Linked DNA regions of Homo sapiens: regions 1, 2, 3 and 5 are each linked to region 4. Evidence: promoter capture Hi-C in 16 types of primary human blood cells and fetal thymus (Javierre and others, 2016). All regions are on one chromosome and are shown on one strand. The core of a region is centred on a gene start or on the middle of the fragment in contact, and the rest is flanking DNA. Distances in the headings are between cores, read along the strand shown. Region 1 has its middle 520 kb from the start of SLC6A15. Region 2 has its middle 430 kb from the start of SLC6A15. Region 3 has its middle 450 kb from the start of SLC6A15. Region 4 holds the start of TMTC2 (transmembrane O-mannosyltransferase targeting cadherins 2). Region 5 overlaps LOC105369875 (a long non-coding RNA gene).

What was found. The method cuts DNA at HindIII sites, captures the fragments that hold promoters and counts their contacts. A CHiCAGO score of 5 or more calls a contact.
Region 1: a contact is called between a fragment that was not itself captured here and the fragment with the promoter of TMTC2 in region 4, in 2 of 17 cell types (endothelial precursors and erythroblasts). The highest score is 22.6, in endothelial precursors.
Region 2: a fragment that was not itself captured here is called in contact with the fragment with the promoter of TMTC2 in region 4 in 1 of 17 cell types (naive B cells); the score reaches 6.6 in naive B cells.
Region 3: a fragment that was not itself captured here is called in contact with the fragment with the promoter of TMTC2 in region 4 in 1 of 17 cell types (endothelial precursors); the score reaches 5.5 in endothelial precursors.
Region 5: a fragment that was not itself captured here is called in contact with the fragment with the promoter of TMTC2 in region 4 in 4 of 17 cell types (endothelial precursors, naive B cells, total B cells and 1 more); the score reaches 12.3 in endothelial precursors.

What each region holds. Positions count from the first base shown.
Region 1 is chr12:84,395,107-84,399,432 of GRCh38, reverse strand. No RefSeq gene overlaps it. Among named protein-coding and RNA genes, the nearest start is that of SLC6A15, 520 kb to the left of the region's middle. The HindIII fragment of the contact is 2,489 bases long and covers 101-2,589 here.
Region 2 is chr12:84,483,273-84,487,449 of GRCh38, reverse strand. No RefSeq gene overlaps it. Among named protein-coding and RNA genes, the nearest start is that of SLC6A15, 430 kb to the left of the region's middle. The HindIII fragment of the contact is 4,313 bases long and covers 1-4,177 here.
Region 3 is chr12:84,464,868-84,469,155 of GRCh38, reverse strand. No RefSeq gene overlaps it. Among named protein-coding and RNA genes, the nearest start is that of SLC6A15, 450 kb to the left of the region's middle. The HindIII fragment of the contact is 247 bases long and covers 1,854-2,100 here.
Region 4 is chr12:82,684,003-82,688,242 of GRCh38, reverse strand. It overlaps TMTC2 (transmembrane O-mannosyltransferase targeting cadherins 2), which reads right to left and starts at 1,337. Exons shown (of 12, transcript NM_152588.3): 1 at 574-1,337. The coding sequence starts at 656. RefSeq lists silencers at 317-376, 737-786, 1,357-1,456, 2,307-2,386 and enhancers at 1,497-1,706, 1,727-1,876. The HindIII fragment of the contact is 3,615 bases long and covers 514-4,128 here.
Region 5 is chr12:84,500,024-84,504,654 of GRCh38, reverse strand. All of the region lies in intron 1 of LOC105369875 (a long non-coding RNA gene), which reads left to right. Among named protein-coding and RNA genes, the nearest start is that of SLC6A15, 410 kb to the left of the region's middle. The HindIII fragment of the contact is 7,736 bases long and covers 1-4,631 here.

The DNA of each region.
Region 1 (4,326 bases), core at 96-2,595, 1.7 Mb before region 4:
GCCAGCTATCCAAGCACCATTTATTTAATAGGGAATCCTTTCTCCATTGCTTATTTTTGTTGACATTGCTGAATATCAGAATGGCTGTAGGTTTGAAGCTTTTTTTCTGGGTTCTGTATTGTGTTCCATTCGTCTATGTGTTAGTTTTTGTATCACTACCATGCTGTTTTGGTTACTATAGCCTTATAGTGTAGTTTGAATTTGGCCTTTGGGTTTGGCTTTGTTCTTTTTGCTTAATATTGCTTTGGCTTTCCAGTTGTTTTTCTGTTCCATGTGAATTTTAGTTGGAATTTTAGTTCCATGTGAACTTTTTTTTTTCAATTCTGCAAAAAATTACATTGTTAGTTTGATAGGAATCGCACTGAATCTGTAGGATGCTTTGGACAATATGGCCATGTTAATGATATCAATTCTTCTGAGCCATAAACGTGGAATGTTTTTCCATTGGTTTGTCATATATGATTTATGCTGTATGCTTAGGTTTTTTCATTTGTTTGTTCGTTTGTTTGTTTGTTTGTTTTTTGGTGGCCAGTGTAAACGGGATTATATTCTGGATTTGGTTCTCAGCTTGAATGTTATTGGTGTATAGAAATGGTACTGATTTTTGTGCATTGACTTTGTATTCTGAAACTTTACTGAAATAAAAATATTATATTTTAGTATGATCACTTTGATATCACTCTATGAAGTAAAGGGAATAGACAGATTGGAGGGAAACAATTGACTCCAAGTTCAGAGAGAGACATGTGGAAGGTCTGAGCTAAGGTAGTTATGTGGTGAGAAAGACTTACATGCTTTAAAATTTAAGAAGCATAATTAAGGTGACTTAAGGACTGTTAAGTTACGAGAGGTCAGAAAATGAAAGTGTGAGATTTGGACTTTGTTTCTTGTTTAATTTTTGTGGATGCTGGTTATGTTCCCTAAAATAGGGAAGGCAGAAATTTTGATACTTTTTATTGGGGTTAGAGATGGAATAGGAGTACTTTACATTTGAGGACTCTGAATATCTGAGGATGGTTAGAAGGCAATTTCATATACCAGTTTGGGAGGTAAGACGGAGAAATGAGTTGTTATATACATTTTGAAGATATTTATATTGAGAGAGTACCAGAAACGACTGAAATTAATTAGGTGATCCAGCAAAATTGCAAAGAAAGGGAAGGAGAATGGACAAAAACATGTTAGAGTACAATAGTATTTAAAATGGTCATAAAAGCAGAACTAGTGAATATTGTCATGCTAAATATATATCTAACCACAAAATAAACCACACTAAGACAATATTCTGTAGTAGGTTTTGTTTGTCCAGTTTTGGACAATCTGGAAACTAGTCTCTGTGTCTAGATAATGATTTACAGCAGCATTATCAGCCATTATTGTGTATCATAATAACTTACAGAGCTTTGAAGAGATACACATTCTTGGACCTCATCTCTGGAAACTTTTAATCAGAAGATTTTTGATACACAGCCAGGTTTGCAAATCACAATTTTATACTTACCAAGGCAATTTCACATGGAGTTAAAAATTACAGCTTTAACTTATAATGACTTATATTGTACTATAAATATATATACTGCCATTTCATTATTTTAATCTTTTTACATGAATTATTTATAATTAAGTGTCCCAAGTATTTACATGTTGCTTCTGAAATCCAATTCAAACATTTTATACTTATGATAAACTTAAAAAAGAAACTTCTAAGAAATACATTTTATTTTCTTTCTGTTTTGATTTAATACTTTTAAATGTTTAATGCTTTATAGCTCAAGGTAAATACTTAATATTTCAGGGTGAATATTAGAGAAAGAAAAAGAGAGAGAAAGATATGTAAATATATAGGAAAATTGGATTACCATTCTTTATGCATATGTTTCATATTATATGTTAGTTATACTCAAGGGGCATTTTTTATTCAGAAATCCACTAGGTGGCATTATAAACTATAATGTTTTAATAATGCATTGATTAAACACTTAATAAAATTGTGTTATAAAGCACCTGTTCATAATTTCTTTCAAATAATCTCAACTACATTTTCTACCTTTATGTTAGATAGCAATAATTGAAGGCTTTTGTTAAAATTAGGACTTATCAAAACTTTTATTGAAAATCTATAAATTTGCTGGAATATGTATACAATACTGAAGAACGCAGTTTAGGGAACATTCTTATAATGTTATATCCTTATTCTCCCGAGATACATTTAAATTCTCATAGGCTTTATATTTCAAAATCCCACCTGTTTTTAATGAATATTATCTGAAAAAGGAAAAAAAAAACAATGAAAATAGCTTAGATAGCAAAATGTTGAGAACATTTATTAATGAAATTTGGCATGTTTAACTTGAGGCTAATCTGATCCAGGAATTTTTTTTCTCATTTCTACTTAAAATTGTTAGACATTCAGACTCTGTCTGCTAAAAACCATAATATTAAACTTTTGAGTCACCTGAGGAGTCATTTTAATCAGACATCCAATTGAAATAATTTCTTGTTCCTTATATAATTGAATTTTGGTTTAGGATTTTCATAGAAAAATTAGTTGTGTAATGCTCTCTCAATGTGGGTAATGAATGTGAAGCTTGTTGGAAATTACTAGAAAAAGAGAGGAGAGAACCTTTGGAAGACAGACTAAATATAAAGTGGATAGAAAAGTAGGAATCTATATTTGTGAAATATGGCCTTTCAAAAAATAATGAAAGCTGTGGAAGTACACTTCTGTGACTTGAAATTTCATTTCTGCATCTCTGAGGGAGGCGGGAATTGAAAAGAGAAGGACAAATCAAGTGCCAGCTACATTTGCTGGCAAGAATTTCATGTAAAAAGAGCTGAATTGAAATCAGCTAGTGTATTGGGGAAGTGGTTTTAGAAATGCCACAAGGTATATACAAAAATGTTTTACTTAGTTATACCAAACTATGTAATTTATGAATGCTACTTAATTTTTTCTTGTTTCATATGGTCAGGAAATTTTTACATATTGATTAAGGAAAAGAGTAGAAGGCTGATATTAATCATATGTTTAAAGCAATGCCTTCATGGAGTAAAATTAATTAACGTACTCCCAGTTTAATAGTACTCTTCTGTACCCAAGCATAACATGCAAAATTTTAAAAGAGTATTGGGATGTGTGGATGAATAATAGATAATAATATTTGTTTTGCTAAGAAATGTGATAGAAGAGAGAGATGATAATTGGGTAAACATGGTTTAAAAATAAGTAGTAGTATACTCAGGAGATTTACTTAATGGTATAAAATAGGAAATGCCATGCATTTGTGTTCCTCAATGATGGAGTAAATCCATTTCAATTCAGATAAAATATAAATGTTAATGAAAATATGCTGAAAGGGAGCAAAAGGAAACAGAGGGTAAAAATGAAACTGCAAAGACAATTTGAAGAAAATTAAACATAGAAAAGAAAAATATTGCACTATCAAGTGAACAGAAGGACAGAAATCACTCCCTCAAAAAGAAAAAGAATCACAAAATAAGAAATGAATGCATTTTCCCATATGTATTAGCTAGAATATAAATCTGGTTTTTAGGTATATATTTAAGACACAGCAGTTTCTGCAACTAAATTTCTTTATGAACACCATCACAGCCACCTGATCTGCTCTTCCATCAGTGCCTCTGTCTTGGCTAACTGATACAGTTCATATGCTCAGCCCAAAACACTTGATTTATTCCTTAACTACGTTTTTTCCACACCACACATTTACTCTGCCTGTAATGCTAGATTTCGTCTTCAAGTTATATTTATAATTCAGTCACATTGAGAGGTGAAGCCAGCTAAGCTTCTGGGTCAGGTGGGGACTTGGAGAACTTTTGTATCTAGCTAAAGGATTGTAAACACACCAATCAGCACTCTTTAAAATGGGTCAATCGGCAGGATGTGGGTGGGGCCAAAGGAGGGAATAAAAGCTGGCAACCCGAGCCAGCAGCGGCAACCTGCTCAGGTCCCCTTCCATGCTGTGGAAGCTTTGTTCTTTCACTCTTCACAATAAATCTTGCTGCTACTCACTCTTTGGGTCCACACCACCTTTAAGAGCTGCAACACCACAAAGGTCTGTGGCTTCATTCTTGAAGTCAGCAAGACCAGGAACCCACTGGAAGGAAGAAACTCCAGACACATCTGAACATCTGAAGGAACAAAATCCGGACACACCATCTTTAAGAGCTGTAACACTCACCGTAATGGTCCACGGCTTCATTCTTGAAGTCAGCGAGACCAAGAACCCACTGGAAGGAATAAATTCTGGGCACATTTTGGTGACCCAGATGGGACTATCACCAATCATTGAGTACCATTGGACC
Region 2 (4,177 bases), core at 857-3,356, 1.8 Mb before region 4:
AAACTAGTAATAATAAGTAAAGGAAACTTAACAGACTTATAATAAAACATCATAGAAAATAAGCAGAAAAATATCCAGAGACTCAAAAAGACTGCTTTACTAGGCTATAGGTTCAAAAGGCATCCCCAGCTCCAACAGTGCTGGGTACCCAGGACATAATGACTGTGCATAAATTATGTAAGGATTTGTAATGATGGTGTGGTGATGGAAAGTGTGTGATTAAAGTGGAATATAAAATTTAGCACATGTGGAAAATAAGAAAAAGAGAGAAATTGTAGATGAAATGATTCAATCCTGGATGTTTGAGACAATGATGCTACCAAAAATTCAAATGTGGCTAACAAAATAAGATGTGAAGGGAAATGAGTTTTATAATATAAATATGTAGTAGTAGATACTATTTCTTTGCTTAGATGTTGATAAAATTATGTTATCTGATTTAGAAAGAGGAACAAATAGTGGCTTGTTGGATAGTTTTGTATGAAAATTTTGACAATACTTTATTACAGGGAAAAAATTGTTAGACAGTGGTTTAGCATCTTCTAAATAATATAAGAAGATGGCCTCTAAGAGTAAGATGCAAAATATCATAGTAAGAGAAAATGTTGATTTTAACAAAAAATTTAAGAAGGAGAAACTTGGTGTAAAGGACTGGAAGCTGATCTTTGAGCCTGACTGACCATATATTTCTTTAAAATGTCACATTTGCGATTGCAAAACTGAATGCCAATATTCATTCACATTTAAAAAGAATAATATAAAATAACATAATAAAACATGAACATAAAGTGCAAAAATTTGCATGTTATTTGATTATAATTTATATATTTTTAATTAAACATATTTTAATCATATAACTGTTATCTCTTCAATCCTATCAGGCAGATTAATCACAAGCAATTATCTTTATAATATAGTGGTGTAAAGATCAAGGTTTTAGTAACTTCCACAAAAATAGGGAACTTTTATGAAAACATTTTTAAGTTGATCATTAGTTCTGAGCAGAAATAATCCTTCTTTTATAATAATTTTCAAAAAGAAACAGAATGGGATAGAAGTAGCTATGGGCAATATAGCCCATAAGGATTTCTCATCTGCCATAGGTGAAACTTACAAACTTGCATCATAGTATAATACACATTTTGAATGTGACTTTGCGTGAATAAAAAACATCACTGTAGGTACCGTAATCTTTCTCTTCTTAAAGAAAAGGAGCCAAACCCCTTTTTTATGTTCTTTAGTATATGATTTTAAAAATCCCAAAGAAACTGTAACATATAATTCCATATTTGTTAGCTTTTTATTTCTACTGGTAGTATGTATAAACTTAGCTGGTGCAGGTTTCGTAGGTGTAGAAAATATGACATGTTAAATAATACAGTTTATAGAAATGTATGAATTTTTCACATGAGTGTTTATGATCCTAAGAACTCACAGCCTATACACATCCCCAAAATTGCTGTGGCACCCGAAACGTCAGTAGTAGAACTTATGGCTCTATGTTTTTAAATCAGAGGTAATTATTGAGATTGGAGACTTTATCTGTTTAATTCACTTCTCTATTTCTAGGACCTAAAACAATACAATAATATGACAAGTGCGCATTCAACATTTATTAAGTGAATGACTTTTCTAATCACTAAGTAAACTGCATGACAAAACTTAGATCCACATAGGTAATAAGCATTATCATTTTAAAAGTTCTGATCACTAAGCAACACATTAATATGAATCAGAAGTTCACAGTTCAATGAAAATATAGAATGTTGGTCAATATAGAATAAATATTACATCTAGTGGAAAGAAAAATGAATCTGTCTTTAGTAACTCTGGTTTAGAATTTCATGTTTATGGATTTATAGTCAGATTAAAATTGGGAAAGAGAATTTACATAGAAGTTTGAAGAGGAAATTTTATTTTATAGAATTATTAACTAAAAGAGGGAACTGGAGTAATGAGCAATTGACCAGTAAGAAGTAAAGAGAACACTAATGAATATAAAAACTGCAGGTGTAAAGAGCAGCCACTGTCACAAGGAAGCATCCCCAAGTGCTGATACTCAGACCTTGTTAAAAACCTATCCCCACCTCACCAGTATGGCTCACTGAATGTGGGGGGTTTAGGGAAAATATAGATGGTTTTGTTAGGTTTTAGTGATTAGGGAAAGGGATTTCAAGATTGTCATTTGTTTTTCTGTCTTGGACAATTAGTTAATTCTAGCAACTTATTGAGGTAGGAAATAGAATGAGATTGAAGGAAACCAAGTGAGCTCACTTTGTATCTGTTAATTTTGTGAAGCTATTCTTACTTAATTGGAGGTGTCTCTTCTGTTACAGTGAAGTTACCCTCTTTCTGTTGATTGCTAGTTCCTCAATTTCTACCTTGGCACACACTCTCTTAACCATAATTTAGAATTTGGCCTCTAAAATTATTTCTGTTCTTTGCCATGTCACCATATTTTCCACCATTAAGAACATCTTTCATCAGTGAACAAAGTACATAATAGAACCATAAGAAAAATGCCTTGGATTCCACATGCCTGTCCAACTCAAGCTACCACATATTTTTTCCATCCCCAGGAAAAGTTTTCACAACGTTATCCATAAACTTAGACCTACGCTTTTCACCACTTTATACTGTTCTCAAACTATTCAAATTGGGCTTTCTTCTTTCCTCTCAATTGAGAGGATCTTGTTGAGATTTCCTTTCTTCTATTCTCATCTCTTTTCTTTTCTTGCTACACTCTCAACTAAGGTGGACTTATCCAAGATCACTGTTCTAAAAGTCATTTATTTGCTTATAATCATTTGTCATTTCTTTGCATGAGATTTATTATTACCTAATATTTTATTTCAAAATTGCTTGGTTATTTATTTATTGCCTATTTTTTTCTGAGAATGTATTATAAAAGACAAGTAGAAAATATTTTTTATTCTCCATCGCATCCCAGCACTAAAAGATATGAACTAGCACAGAGCAGGTATTCAGTACATTTTTCTAAAAATTAAAAAAAATTATGTATTGCATAACATTTCCAATTTCTTCCCAGTGATATTAAAAGAAAGAACAAATTTCATAGCATGATCTAAAGCCCTATATTGTATAACACATGCCAGTCTCTTTAGCTCATCTCCATATATTGTACCCCATTGAGTACTTCCCACTGGCCTCATTTGTGATGCCGAACACACCAAATGAATTTACACATTAGAATATTTGCTGGGTGTGTTAGTCAGGGTTCTCTAGAAGGACAGGACTAATAGCATAGCTGTATATATGAAGCGGAGTTTATTAAGGAGTACTGACTCACATGATCACAAAGTGAAGTCCCACAATAGGCAGTCTGCAAGCTGAGGAGCAAGGAAGCCAGTCTGAGTCCCAAAACCTCAAAAATAGAGAAGCTGACAGTCCAGCCTTCTGTCTGTGGCCAAAGGCCTGAAATCCCCTAGCAAATCGCTGGTGTAAGTCCAAGAGTCCAAAAGCTGAAGAACTTGGAGTCTGATGTTCAAGGGCAGGAAGCATCCAGCATGGGAGATATATGAAGGCTGGAAGACTCAGTAAGTCTCGTCTTTCCAACTCCTTGCCTGCTTTATTCTAGTCACACTGGCAGCTGATTAGATAGTGCCTACCCAGATTGAGGTGGGGTCTGCTTCTCCCATTCCACTAACTCAAATGTTAATCTCCTTTGCTAGCACCCTCACAGACACACCCAATAACAATACTCTGCATCCTTCAATCCAATCAAGTTGACACTCAATATTAACCATCACACTGGGATTACTATTCTGTTACACCAATGATGGCTGCCTTCTTCTAACGATCAGCTTAAAAATGCCTTGTGTTATTGTCAACAATATCTTAGATCCTCTCTGGCACATATAGAAATTCAACAAATATTATTTGAATAAATTATTGAGTATATGAATTAATTAGACTGCTAAATAAGCAGAGATAGAATAAGTAATGAACTTAAAAAGAAAGTTCTGAGAAAACCAATTTTGGTGGTCCTGGAAACCAAAAAAACAAGTGTTTTTCAATGTGAAGGAAATACTTAACTACTGTGATTGAAAATATATCCAGTGCATTGATTACTACAAAATCTCTATCTTCAACTTTGTCTTCTCTTGTATTTATTTTCTCAGCTGCCTAGTGCACAATTTACACTAAATGTCTAACA
Region 3 (4,288 bases), core at 728-3,227, 1.8 Mb before region 4:
AGACCTGTATGAGAATGTTAAATAGTAGCTTAATTTAGAGTACCCCAAATTTGGAAACAAGTAACAGCAGAAGGGATAAACTGCTCATGGAATACCACTCAGCCATATAAGGAATAAGCTACTGACACACTTGTTGCCCCAAGGCATGAGGGTCAGGGATTGAAGTTTTAGGGAGGAACACTGATTAATCTCACAGGTATAATGCTGAGCCCAACCAAAAGAGTTACAGAGTATGATTCTATTTATATAAAATTCAAAAAAATACATATGTTACATATGCTATTTAAAGTCAAAATATAGTTTGCCTTGGGGAGCAGACATTGCCATTAACTAGAAAGAGTCAGGAGGGAACTTTCTGGGATGCTGAAAGTGTTCTTTACTTTGACTGTGGTGGCAATAACTGAGTATATATTCCTCAAGTCTCTTGAAACTGTACAAGTAAGATCTTAACATTTCTTTACATATAAACTATAGCTCTCTATCAAAATAAACACCATTAAAGTAATTGAGGATTGAAGACCCAAAATGTATTAGAAAAATAAGCCAAAAACATAGATGGCCACGGTTGATCCTAAAATAAATGTAAAGTTGCTCAACCTCACTTATAGTAAGATAAATGTAAATTAAAATTACAGTATGTGTTTTTCACCTTTTAGATAGTCAAGTTTCAAAAGCCTGACCACACATTTTGCTAACAAGACTGGAAAAGTAAAAGACAAACTTTCATAGATTTCTGGTGAGCGTGAACAATGGTACAATCCTTATGGAGGAATTTTGGAAAAATTTTATGAAACTACATTTGCTTTTAGTCATTGGTCTAGCAATTTTGCTTCTAGGAATTTTATCCTAAAAATAAACATACACTAAGGAAAATAACCACAATAAAAACATAGGCACACATTTATTTATAGGAGCAATTTTCCTATAAATATCCTGAAAATCATCTGGAAAGATACATAGGTTATTGACTGGAAAAATAGTTACATTTATGCATTGGAACATTATGCAGCTATAAAGAATTAAGAAAAATATTTGTGAACTGATATAAAGAGCTTTTCAGGCTATACTATTAAGTTAAAAAATAGGGTAAGACAGCTTATATGATATGCTTTTTATTAAAAATGAAAATGAAACTATATTTTAAAGTAGTTGTTTATACAAAAACAATAGGCTTTGGAAACTAATAAAAATACAAGAGGTGAATTGGAAGTGTTAAATATGTGGATACACTTTTTTTGAATATATTTTTCCAATGATTTTGAATTTAGAACCATTTTATTATCTTATACATCAAAACATTAAGCTAAATTTGTTTATTACAGTAAGAAGTAAATAAACATTAACATTCTTGTGAACAATTGCTCATATTCTGGTGAAAAGATAAAAATGTGGAGTGGGAAAAAGAGAGGAAGAGTGATATTGAATTATGATTTGATTTGGACTTAAAGGCATTGAAGTGAAGTCATTATAAAAAGGCATGAAAACAGACACCTTATCAGCAATGAGCAATATTTGAGGCAAATCTAGATACTACTACCTACTTAAACTAATAGTGCTTGTAGTAGAAATGACTGGTTTCAGGTCTGGGACAGTGAAATTTGAAAGTTAACTGGAATATTTTATTGTCCAAGAAAGTGAGAAAATTCTCCCTACTAGTGGAGATCTGTCAAAAAGACAACATTGGAGTCAGATTAAACAGCTCAACTGGACAAATATGATTATCAAAATGAATAATGACTAAAATGAAATCTAAATCTAATATATTGATTTCAAAATAGAAAAAATATGCAAGTCCATACTTTTGCTAAATTAAAATAACAACTAAAAAGTAAGAGAAGAACAAAAGAAAAGCTTTCCTTATAAAAGAATGCTGCTCAGAAAGCTGTGGACTTCATTTCTCTAAAAATTCAGGGCCTATTTTATAGAAGACATCCATAGACTTCACACAAATAAATTTAAAAATAAGTATGATGGAATATTCTTATTTGAAACTTCCTATTTGTTGATGAGCATTCATAATGAGCTATTATTTGAAATGTTCATAAAGAATAGTGGCATAGGCTCATTTGGAAATTGGTATAATTGCAAGTCACAAAAGCTTTTGCAAATGTAAGTAGGACGATGTGTACCTACTTTAAATTTTATGAGCAAAGCTAATTATTTTAAATATGCATAACATCATGAATGATGGATTGTCAAATATACTTTAGAAAATGCAAAGATTAAAATACTAACCTATGCCTCCTTAAAAAAAAATATTGTCTTTCTACTACCATTATAATAAAATTCAAACCTCTTGGCAGATCCTATGAGACCCTGCCTAACTGGCCCTTCCCACTTCTACTTTCTTACTTTGCTCTGTTCACGTCAGCCCTCTGTCATATTAAAAAACCTATCATGCTCTTACCTTCATCAAAATCTACTTGCCTTTTGACCCCACTTGTGATGTTTTTCCTCTAGATCTTCTCATGACCATTTTTATTCCCGTTAGTTTTGGTTCACAAATTATATTTTCCTGACCACTCATGCTCAGTTTTTTTATTCTCTCTCATTAAACTATTATTCCTTCAGATACATTTTTAAAATCTGCCAATATTTACTTTTGTTTTGTTCCTTTGTTTAGCATTATTTATTCCACTAAACTGTGATCTCTATTCTACTTAGAGAATGTTCTGGTCACCATTATTCCCCCAAGGGCCTTAGTATGGTGTGTAGCACATATTGAGAGTATCAGATATAGAATTTTAACATACAATAGGCTGGGCGCAGTGGCTCATACCTCTAATCCCAGCACTGTGGGAGGCCGAGGTGGTTGGATTACCTGACGTTAGGAGTTCAAGACCAGCCTGACCAACCTGGTGAAACCCTGTCTCTACTAAAAGTACAAAAATTAGCAGACGTGGTGGTGGGCGATTCTAATCCCAGATACTCGGGAGGCTGAGGCAGGAGAATCGCTTGAACCCAGAAGGTGGAGGTTTCAGTGAGCTGAGATCGTGCCACTGCACTCCAACCTGGATGAGGGAGAGAGACTTCACCTAATAAATAAATAAATAACATACAATAATGACTCAATGTTAGTTACTATTATTAATGACTCATAATTCAGAATAAATAATTGCTTTATTCTTTAAAGACATTTTATTTAATAAACAAAGCTTGATTTAATTATCTGTATATTAAGTTTAGGAATATGGTTGGTGCTACAGTAATTACAAGGATTAATGTGCAGCAGACAGTTACATCTTGAATCTATATTGCACGTCTGGAAGATCACGGTGAGCTACCAAAACTTTGTTTGTATGAAGAATGTAGAAACATCTTATGGGAAGAGATGGGATAGTGAAATTGGCATTAAATAAGAAACCAACTGCACATGCCTAGTAAAATATTGCCTTAGTAGACAGAAGGAAGGAATTCTGAATAAACTCCCTCAATGGTCAGCTTCCTTTCTTAAGAAGGAAAAAGTTTGTTGTTTCTCATTAAAAGTTGCCCTTAGCTCAGTCCAATGAACTCATATCTGAATTCTGGGAAGAGAAAGACAGGTGCAATAAGTTAAAAATGATGCAACTGTTTTTAGACAAACTTCTGTGAGATGTTGGGATCAGAATGTAGCATTATCTTGGGAATAACACAGAAAAGAATGGTATCAAGATTAAGTAAGTTATTAATAGACATAGTCTCCTTGCTTCAGCCCAATGCTGCCTAAGTTAGAGAAGGGATTGGCAGGTGGATGGCCCCAAACCAAATGTCTGTCTGGGTAACAGTTATCCTGACCCTCAGAGGAAGATGAGAGCTTCAAGCTGTCCTCTTACAGCACTTATTAGATAACTCCCTGAGCTCTAAAAGGTGAGAAGGAAGACTTCCTGAGGAACTAGTATTTGTAATTGTGGGTGGAAAAAGAAAAAATTTGTTTATCACCATGTGACTCAATTTTTACTTCCAGGTCATTATGACCCAAGGGTGCGCATAGCTTCTTGTTTCACGGAATTCACAGACAAATTCATCTACTAGTGTATTGTATAATATTTTGAGGCCAAAAATGTATATGTTTTTGAAGAGCTCTCAAACATTCATACAATAGGTATTAGCCTTACAACTTTCTTTAACTGAGTGTTTATAGAAACTAAATTTGAATAGAAAGCATGACAAATAAGGTATAACCAGAAAAGTTAAAAGATAAACCGTCTCTAACAAGCGAGTGGAGATGTACTTTGGAGAAGAAAAATTTTGAAAAGGACTCAAATAAGAGACGTTGTAGAATATTATCATTTCTCCAAAAAAAAAAAAA
Region 4 (4,240 bases), core at 88-2,587:
GGAGAGACCATCAGCAGCATTATTTTGGCTCAAAGTAAAAGTCTATACACGTTAAAAGGGAAAGTTAAAGCAGAGAACGATCTCCCTTTTCACAATTTTGGCAACTATCAAACGTGTGTTTTAACTTCGGGAAATAAAAGTGTCCCATCAATAAAAGGAAACGGGACAGGGAGGATCTATCAGGGATCGAGGAGAGGCTTCCTCCCAACCAGACGTAAAATCACTTAATGTGCTTTGTTGCATCAAGGAATACCTAAGACTTTAATTTAATACGTTCATTAAACAGTTTCCCAAATTGCCGGGATTTCCGCTAAGAAACTCAAGCGTCTGCCAACAGCCGAGAAGCAAGGGAGAGAACCTGCTGCAAACTAGGAGCGGAAACTCCCTCGGCCCGCCCAGCGCGCCTCACGTCCCCGGTGTTTGATTTAGGTGTTAATGTTTACGTGTCGCCTAAACCATCAGGTGCTGAACCAGTTCCTCCAAGACGCACTTTGAGCCTTAAAGAGGGAAGCTTCAGAGCCACTGCGGAGTGTGCCCCCTGCAGCCCGTCGCCCCCTCCTCTCGGCCCCTTACCTGTCATCATAGCAGAAATCCGCACTCAGGGTGTTGAGATACAAGGCGAGCCCCAGAGCGCTGCTCACCAACTCTGCAATCATCTCTCCACCGCCTTCCCTCCGGCTCGGCTCCCAGCGCGAGGGCAGCAGCGGCAACAAAAAACAGAAGCATCAATCTCCACCTTCCGCCGCCTTCTCCTCCCAGCTTCACTTTTCCCTCGCTTCCCCACCCTCCCTCCCTCGGGTCCTTCCAATCCACGACTCCTCTCCTCCTCCTCGCGCCCGTCTCCGCAGCTCCTGCGTCCTCCCCGGGTGCGGGCTCACACCACACTCCCCATGCCCGGCGCCCGCAAGCGGTGAGCGGCGTTTGGGCTCCGCGTCCCCCGGCGGAAGCGCAGGGCTGGTCTTTCGCGCGGGTCGCGATCCCCACCCTAACCCATGGCAGTTTGGGGCGTCCTAGGTGAGGAGTGGGACTCGGAGGAGGTGGAAGGGTGCGGGATGGGGGCAGAGGGACCGGACCAAGCCGGGCTCTGGGACCAGCTGGAGGAAGAGAGAGAAAGAGGCGCGGGTGGGAGGGACAAGGCGAACCGCCTCCCCTCGCCGCCTCCCGGGCGCACTGCTCCGGTGTCGCTCGGGCGGACTCCGGCCGCCAAGGCAGCTGCTGCACATTCAATGTTTATTAGCTCCCTCCCAGCCCCAGCCCCAGCCCCAGCCCCAGCTCCCTTCTCCAGTGAAGTGAGAAGCGGTGGCTGGAGACTCCAGAAGCTCCCGCGTGGGGTTCTCGACGCGGCCCCCCGCGCCTGCGTGACCAACCCTCCATCCCGGCTTGGCCCAGCCCCTTTCTCCACCCAGATCCTCCCGGAAGGCTCCTCCTACCCTGCCCCTCGGGCTGGAGGCTCCTCCCACCCTCCCCGGCCTGGAGGCTCCTCCTACCAGCCTCCCGTCCTCTTGTTTCTTTCACCTTCGATTTCACTCTGGAAAGCCCCCGGGACCCAAGGGCGACGGCTGGAAGACAGCCCAAAGGAGTAGATACAGTGCACCCTGGGAGGGGAAGCTGGGAGAAAGGAGGTCGAGGAGGAGGTGGTCGGTCGCCCCGCTGCTGCCTGGCAGCGCCTGGCACGGCTGAATCTCAGCCACAGCGCTGTGTGTGCCAAGAGCTGCCAGGCGTAAGTCCGGTCAGCTGGAGAGACTTCTGAGACCGGGAGAGGAAGAACAGGTTTGGCGACTGCTGCAGCTTCGGTTGTCACAAACTCACTGGCGATCTCTCACGCACACTGTGTGTGAGACTAAATGGGGGGGAGGAGGTAGTATTGGAGAGCTTGGAGGCAACTTAGGAAGGAGAGATTTCAGCTCTTAGCCTACGGTTGGCCACAATGTCAGTGGAAAGACGTGTAGGGAGAGAAACGTTTCCTCCTTCAGTAAGGTTAAAAAGAAAGGACCCCAAAAAGGGAAAGAAAGACACACACACACCCCGCAGCAACTGCCCGGGGACCCCTTCGTGGTTTCAGAGGGACTGTCGGGTTGACCCTGAGAACACAGGAGAGAAACCTCTAGTGCAAGCCGGTACAGCATTATACTTAAACCTAGTAAGGCAGTAAGCTAATGCCCTTTCCTTTCCGCTCGGAGGCAGGACTGGATGGAAAGCATCCAACATGGTGAAATATGGTGTAGAATGGTCTGTGTAGAACAAGCTCTGGGTACTAAAGTTGCAAGACCAAAGAGGACCCAGGGCTGCCTGACACGCCTCCTCCCGGCTTGTTGGCTTTCTGGCCAGGAGAGTAGCTCCGGTGCACCGCGATGTACACTACTGCAGCGCCCCCTGCTGCATAGTAACCACAAGGTGTGGAAGACAGGTCTGTTTTGCATGCGGGCCGACTGGTTCCAACCAAGAGCAGCACCTAACCAGCAAGCTCTCCGAAACTGTGGCAAGAAATTGAGCCCCCTGGGTGTCTAGCAGTGGCCTGGAAAGAAAATACCGTGGTCTGGGCTTCTGTAGAACAAAGCTACATATTTCCCTGATTTCACAAGGAAATCTGAGAAATCTGTATTGGATACACACAGATAAAATGATGAATATTTATTAATATTATACCTGTTATGCCATCCACAGTAGCACATTTTTTGTGCCCTGGACAAATATATGTAAACAAAAATAAAAGGAATTATGTCTTTACAGGTAGGGACTGATCTTTTACCCTTTTCCTCCATAACCTTTGCTCACTTGAAAATTTTGAAAATCATATCAGTTAGTCCATCCTGATGCTCTGTGTCTCTCCAATGCACTTACATGCTGAGATATATATAGTATATATAAAATATGTATATGGTGTCCTAGAACACTGAAGGAAGAACACATACTGTGGGATCAGATGTTTAAGTTTGAGTGCATACTCTGCTATTACTATTTGGGCGATCTTTGGCCAGTCGTTCAACCTCTTTGTGACTCTGTTTTCTAATCTATGAAACAGTGATAATAATAGTACTTATCTTATGAGTACTGTTATTATGAGTATTAAAGTAGTTAACCTATGTAAAATATCTAAAAGGGACCAGGAAAGTGCTACAGAAGTATTAGCTAGTATATCATTATTACTATGCTTTCTAGCTTCCTCGTTTCATTTTACTTGTTAACAAAAACCTGGACAGTTACCTCCAAAACACATCCTATCACATCTTTACTACTTGAGTCCACAGCCCAGCTGCCCTCATCTCCTGCATAGACAAATGCAGTAGCCCTCTAAGTGGTCCCCGTACTTCTACCCCTGCAATGCCTCCCTTCCCCAATTTTAACTTTAGGCAGAAGTTTCCTTTGAAAACCTATACATTCCCAATTTTTAAATGTTCCACAACTTCCTGTTGTATTTTTAAATGTCCAACAACTTCCTGTTTTACAGCTAATAAAACTAATTCTTACCATGGCCAGCCAAGCCTTCATTTAGCCCAGACTACCCCTCCCGCTTCATGTTGTGTTCATATGTGTACAACACAGACATCCTTCTCAGGAACTAACCACTTTCTCTTCCTCCTGCATGAGGTTCTTCTCCTCAAACCTTCTCTAGCTCCTTCTCACCATTCAGGTCTTAGCTCAAATGGCATAACCTCAGAAATAAAGTAGGCTCTCCCCCATCAATCTCTATCCAACCACCATGTATTAGTTTCTTCATAGTATGTATTAGTATCTGGAAGCACCACTGAGTGGAAGCTCCATGAGGTCAGGGATCCTGTCAGTCTTCTTTTCCACATAAAACCCAGAGCCTATAACATCTGGACACGGAGAAGAAACTTTAAAAAGATTGTTAATAAATGAACAAAATAAATGTGCTTAGGAGAAACTACGTAACAGCTGGAAAATCCAAAAATTTTCATCGCTGATTTATTGTTTGTCGTTAGTGTTAAAGATCGTGAAGTATTAACCAAGGAGAGAGGAAGGGAGCAGGTTCACAGTTTTTCAGAATACATCAAGTCTGCAGGAATACCCGTGAAGGGGAGTCACATGGACAGGTCTCTTCAGTTATTAAGAGGACTCAGATATGTAAAAATATTAGAGAGCTTTGGGTTCCACATGCTAAAAGCTTGTAAGCCTTTTCCACAGCTGTGTTCATTTTTAAGGCTCCAATAGTTTAATTTAATTTTTAATTTTTTTTTTTTTTTGAAACAGAATCTCACTCTGTCGCCCAAGCTGGAGT
Region 5 (4,631 bases), core at 1,597-4,096, 1.8 Mb before region 4:
CTTGGCTAAAGATTTGCAGGATCTAACTCTTATGGGGGGAGGGGGCACATCTCCTACAGTACATGGATGACTGTTAATCTGCTTCCTGACAAGAGAGTTGGGAATCCAACATTTAGTCCAGACAGGGATTTTCTTGCAGACCAGGGATACAAAGTGTTGGAGGCCAAGGCACAGCTACTAAGACAGGGGGTCAAATACCTGGGAATAATTATGACCCTTGGAGAATGTAAGCTCTCCCGAGAATGGATACAGGTTATTCTTAAGACAGCTACCTGGAGCACCCAAAAGCAGCTGCAGGCCTTTCTGGGAATCACGGAATATTAGAAACTGAATACTGGGTTATGGTGGAATTAAGTCCTTATATCAGGCTCTAACAAAAGGGACGGATAGGGACCCACTTCTCTGGGAGAAGAATCAAGAGCAAACCTTTAGGCAGCTAAAAACTGCCGTCTTACAAGCCCTAACCTTTGGGCTACCTATACTAAGCAAACCATTTCAACTGTTTATCACTGAAAGGCAAGGTGTAGCCCTAGGAGGTCTAACTCAAACCATTGGGCCAATCAAATGTCCATAAGGTAATTTTTCAAAGTACCTAGACCAAGTTGCACAGGGGTGTTTGCACAGGGGTGGTCACACAGTCTCAAGGAAGTGGCTGCAGCAGTCCTCCTACTTGGGGAGGCCTTTGAAATCACCATGGGGCAGTCAACCCAGCTCCTAATGTTCCACCAAGTTGGCCCCTTACTGGACAAAAAAGGGCCACAGTGGCTCACTGACAGCAGATTGTTGAAGTACCAGGTTTTGTTATTAAAAAACCTGCAGGTAACAGTTGAGTGGTGCTAGACCCTCAACCCAGCCACCCTCTTGCCCCTACCAAGAGACAATAACCTGGCACATTCATGCTGTGAAGTACTCAGCCAAATTTATGCCAGCAGGGCTGACTTAAAGGACCAACCCTTGGGAAATCCCATCAAAATATGATTTTCAGATGGAAGCAGTTTTGTCTGGAATGGAACTAGACATGCAGGATAATGCTTTGGTGTACCTCTACCAAGTGACCGAAGCTAGAGCTTTATCCCCAGGGACCTCAGTTAACTAGAGCTTAACTCACTATGCTAACCAGAGCCCTAAAACTAGGGGAATGAAAAAGAATAACCATTTATACAGACTCCAAACATGCTTCTTTGATCCTTCCCACCCAGGCAGCTATCTGGAAGGAAAGGGAATATTCCTATTAAGTACAGGCCTCAAATCTTAGAGCTGCTAGAGTCTGTTCATTTGCCCCAGAAGGTGGCAGTAGTGCACTACAAGGGACACCAGAGGGCCACGATGAAACCGCACAAGAAAATAGTTTGGCTGACCAGAAAACTAAAGAAGCAACTGTTCCAAAGTTTACATTTCTGGGAGCCTTGCTCCCTTCTCTCCCCACTGAACTACCCCCACTCCAGTACACCCAGGAAGAAATAGATTTGGACCACCCAACAGGGATATCAAAAAGAAACCAATGGATGGTACAGCCTGGGGGCACTTTTCCATCTGCCAAAGGCCTCCCAGTGGAAGGTCATCCAGAGTCTGCATGACTCCTGCTACTTTGGAAAGGACAGTCTAGGGAAAATTTGTAAGTGGGTGTTTAGCAGGAGGGGACTGAACAAGGCTATTGAGAAGGCTTGTCAGGCTTGCTCCTTGTGTGCCATAAATAATCCCCAGAGAGGGAAGCCTCCTCCATTAATAAGTCCGATCCAAAGAAGAGGTAAATACCCTGGAGATGGGAAGATGGATTTCACTCAGATCCCCACATGCCATAGATATAATTACCTCTTAAACTGTGTAGATAATTTCACATGATGGGTAGAGACCTGTTGCACAAAGACTGAGAAGGCACAGTTAAGTAGCTGAATTCCTCCTCAAGGAACTTATTCCCCGATTTGGCTTCCTAGGTCATTGCAAAATGACAATGGCCCATCCTTAATTCCCCAAATGACTCAACAGGTTAGTAATGCCCTTGGCATGAAATGATACCTTTAGTCTGCCTGGAGACCACAATCTTCAGGAAAGGTGGAAGGAAATAACCAAGCCCTCAAACACATCCTCAATAAACTGTGTCAGGAAACAGCAAGTCATGGGTGGACCTCTGACCTCTAGCCCTCCTTTGAATCCATGTTGCCCCTAAGGCTTCTTTACAATTAAGCCCCTAGTAGGCCTTATATGATAGACCATTCCTATATTCTGACTTATTGCTAGATGAAGAAACTACCAAAGTCACCCAGTATGTCTGTTCTATGGCAGGCTTCCAACAGGCCTCCGGGAATACTGGTTACAAATAAACCCAAAATTGAAAGAGGAAAAAGCTCAGACTTTATACCCTCCAGGCTCACTAGTTCTCATGAAAGGTTGGAAGGATGGAACCCTGAAATCCCAACTAACTGGAAGGTCTGGAAGGTCCCCTTCACTGTTCTATTATCTACTCCCATAGCTATTAAAGTACCAGAGGTTGCCATCCAGATACACTATACTTAAGTGAAGTGAAGCTGAGGTCCAAGACAAGGGACTGAGATTCCTGCAGAGGTGTCACTCTGGAGTTCTCTGGATAGTTGCCGACTCACCCACCAATAATAAGTCTACCTCCCGACTCTCCAAAATTTGTGTCCTTCCCCTGTGCAAAATATATCCATCAATCCCAGTATCTCCAAGATCCTGCATTAACTCTAAGTCTAAAGTCTTATCTAAATATCATCAGTTCAAAGTCCAAAGTCTCATCATCTAAATCATTTAAACCAGTGTGGGTGAGACTTGATGTATGATTCATCCTGGAGCAAAAATCTCCCTTTACCTGTAAACCTGTAACACCAGACAAGTTATCACCTTCTACGTTAAATAGGGAGACAAGCATATAATAAATATCCACATTCCAAAAGGAAGAAATTAGAAGAAATAAAGACATTACAGTCCCTGAACAAGTTCAAACACCAACAGAGCAAATTCTGTCAGATTTCAAGGCCTGAGACTCATCCTCTGTGGCCCCATGCTTTGTCTTCTGGGTCCACTGGGTGACCATTAATCCTTAGCTGTCCTGGACTCCCAGCTGTATCATACATGGCATTCTCCCTGTCCATCTCTGTCTCTGTTTTCAAATTCCGCCCCCCCCTTTTTTTTTTTTTATTAAGGATACTAGTGATATTGGACTAAGACCTTACCCTACTCCAGAATGACCTCATTTTAACTTAACTAATTTCATTTATAACACTTTTCAAATTAGGTCAAATTCTGAGAGAATAGGCGTTAGAATCCCAACATATAATTTTGGAGGGATGAAATTCAACCCATAGTAAATATGTGCATTTCTAAGGCAAAATTACAAAAAAAAAAAATAGCTTGAAAGAAAATATAAAAATACTTTTAGACATTATGGTACACGAAAATTTTCTTAAAAGACCCAAAATCTAAAATAATAAACTATAAACTTGCCTACACTAAAGTTATATACTTCTGCATAAAGCAATTATTTTACCACTTGATGACAAAATCTGCATTCTCAGAAAAGCATATAGAATTTGCACTGCTCAATAAAGTAATAGCAATTTGATTATGTAAAAATAATTACAGCAAAACTCCCACACGTTAACAAAAAGGCAAATTATTTTAAAATGTGGAAATATGAGAACTGAATTCACAGAAGGTGCTGAAAATCACTAGAAATCTGAATACTCAATTTGAACAGGAGCTAACTAATCATTCATTTGATTGACATGAAAATAAAAATACGACACTGTCAGCATGTAAGAATGTGAGATACATGATTTTCTCAGTAATGCTAAGAGGAGAATAAATTGATAAAGTCATCTTGAAAAACAACTTAAGTGTATGTTATAAAAATTATAATGTAAATGTCTCATCCTTTGATTCATTTGTAAGGTTATATTTGTATCGGTTAGCTAGTACCATGACAATGCTATATAAAAAACACCCCAAAACTGAATGGTTCAAAGCAAAACTTATTTATTCTCATGGATCTGTGGGTCAGCTTAACCATGCTTTTAAAAGAGTGTTAGCAAAGCACAGATGACCAAGCAGTAATCATTTGAGGCCACATAAGGTTATGTGCAGAACTAGCACACTGTCACTTCCATCCTCATCATTGACCAAAGCCAACAGAAGTGCACTTAACCCTTTTTTTTTTAATGAGAAAAACTACAAAATTATCTATCAAAGCACACAGACACAAGGAGGAATAGAGAATGTTCACCAATAATTCCTTTGAAAGCAGTGTATTCTCCTGGTCATAATCATAATATTTAAAAACTTAGTAAAACACAGTCATCTCAGGACACCTAATCTAATCACATCAGCAGGCCTGAAGTTTAAGATCCTACAATCTATAACAAGTTTAGATGAGTTCTTCATGATTCAATGATTTATGAATTTAAGAGGAAACATTCTCCCAACATGCAATGGTAGGAAAGGGTAAGTATATTCTCAATAACAACTCAAATTTAGTACATTTGAGATATGTATTAGTCGCTTATCCATTATTCATAAACTTTGTGAAATCCTGTTGGACAAACGATGCTATGTCTTGGTATCTGTGAGGTATAAAATGCATTTTACATGCTGATTCTGCTTCCTGGGTCTAATTC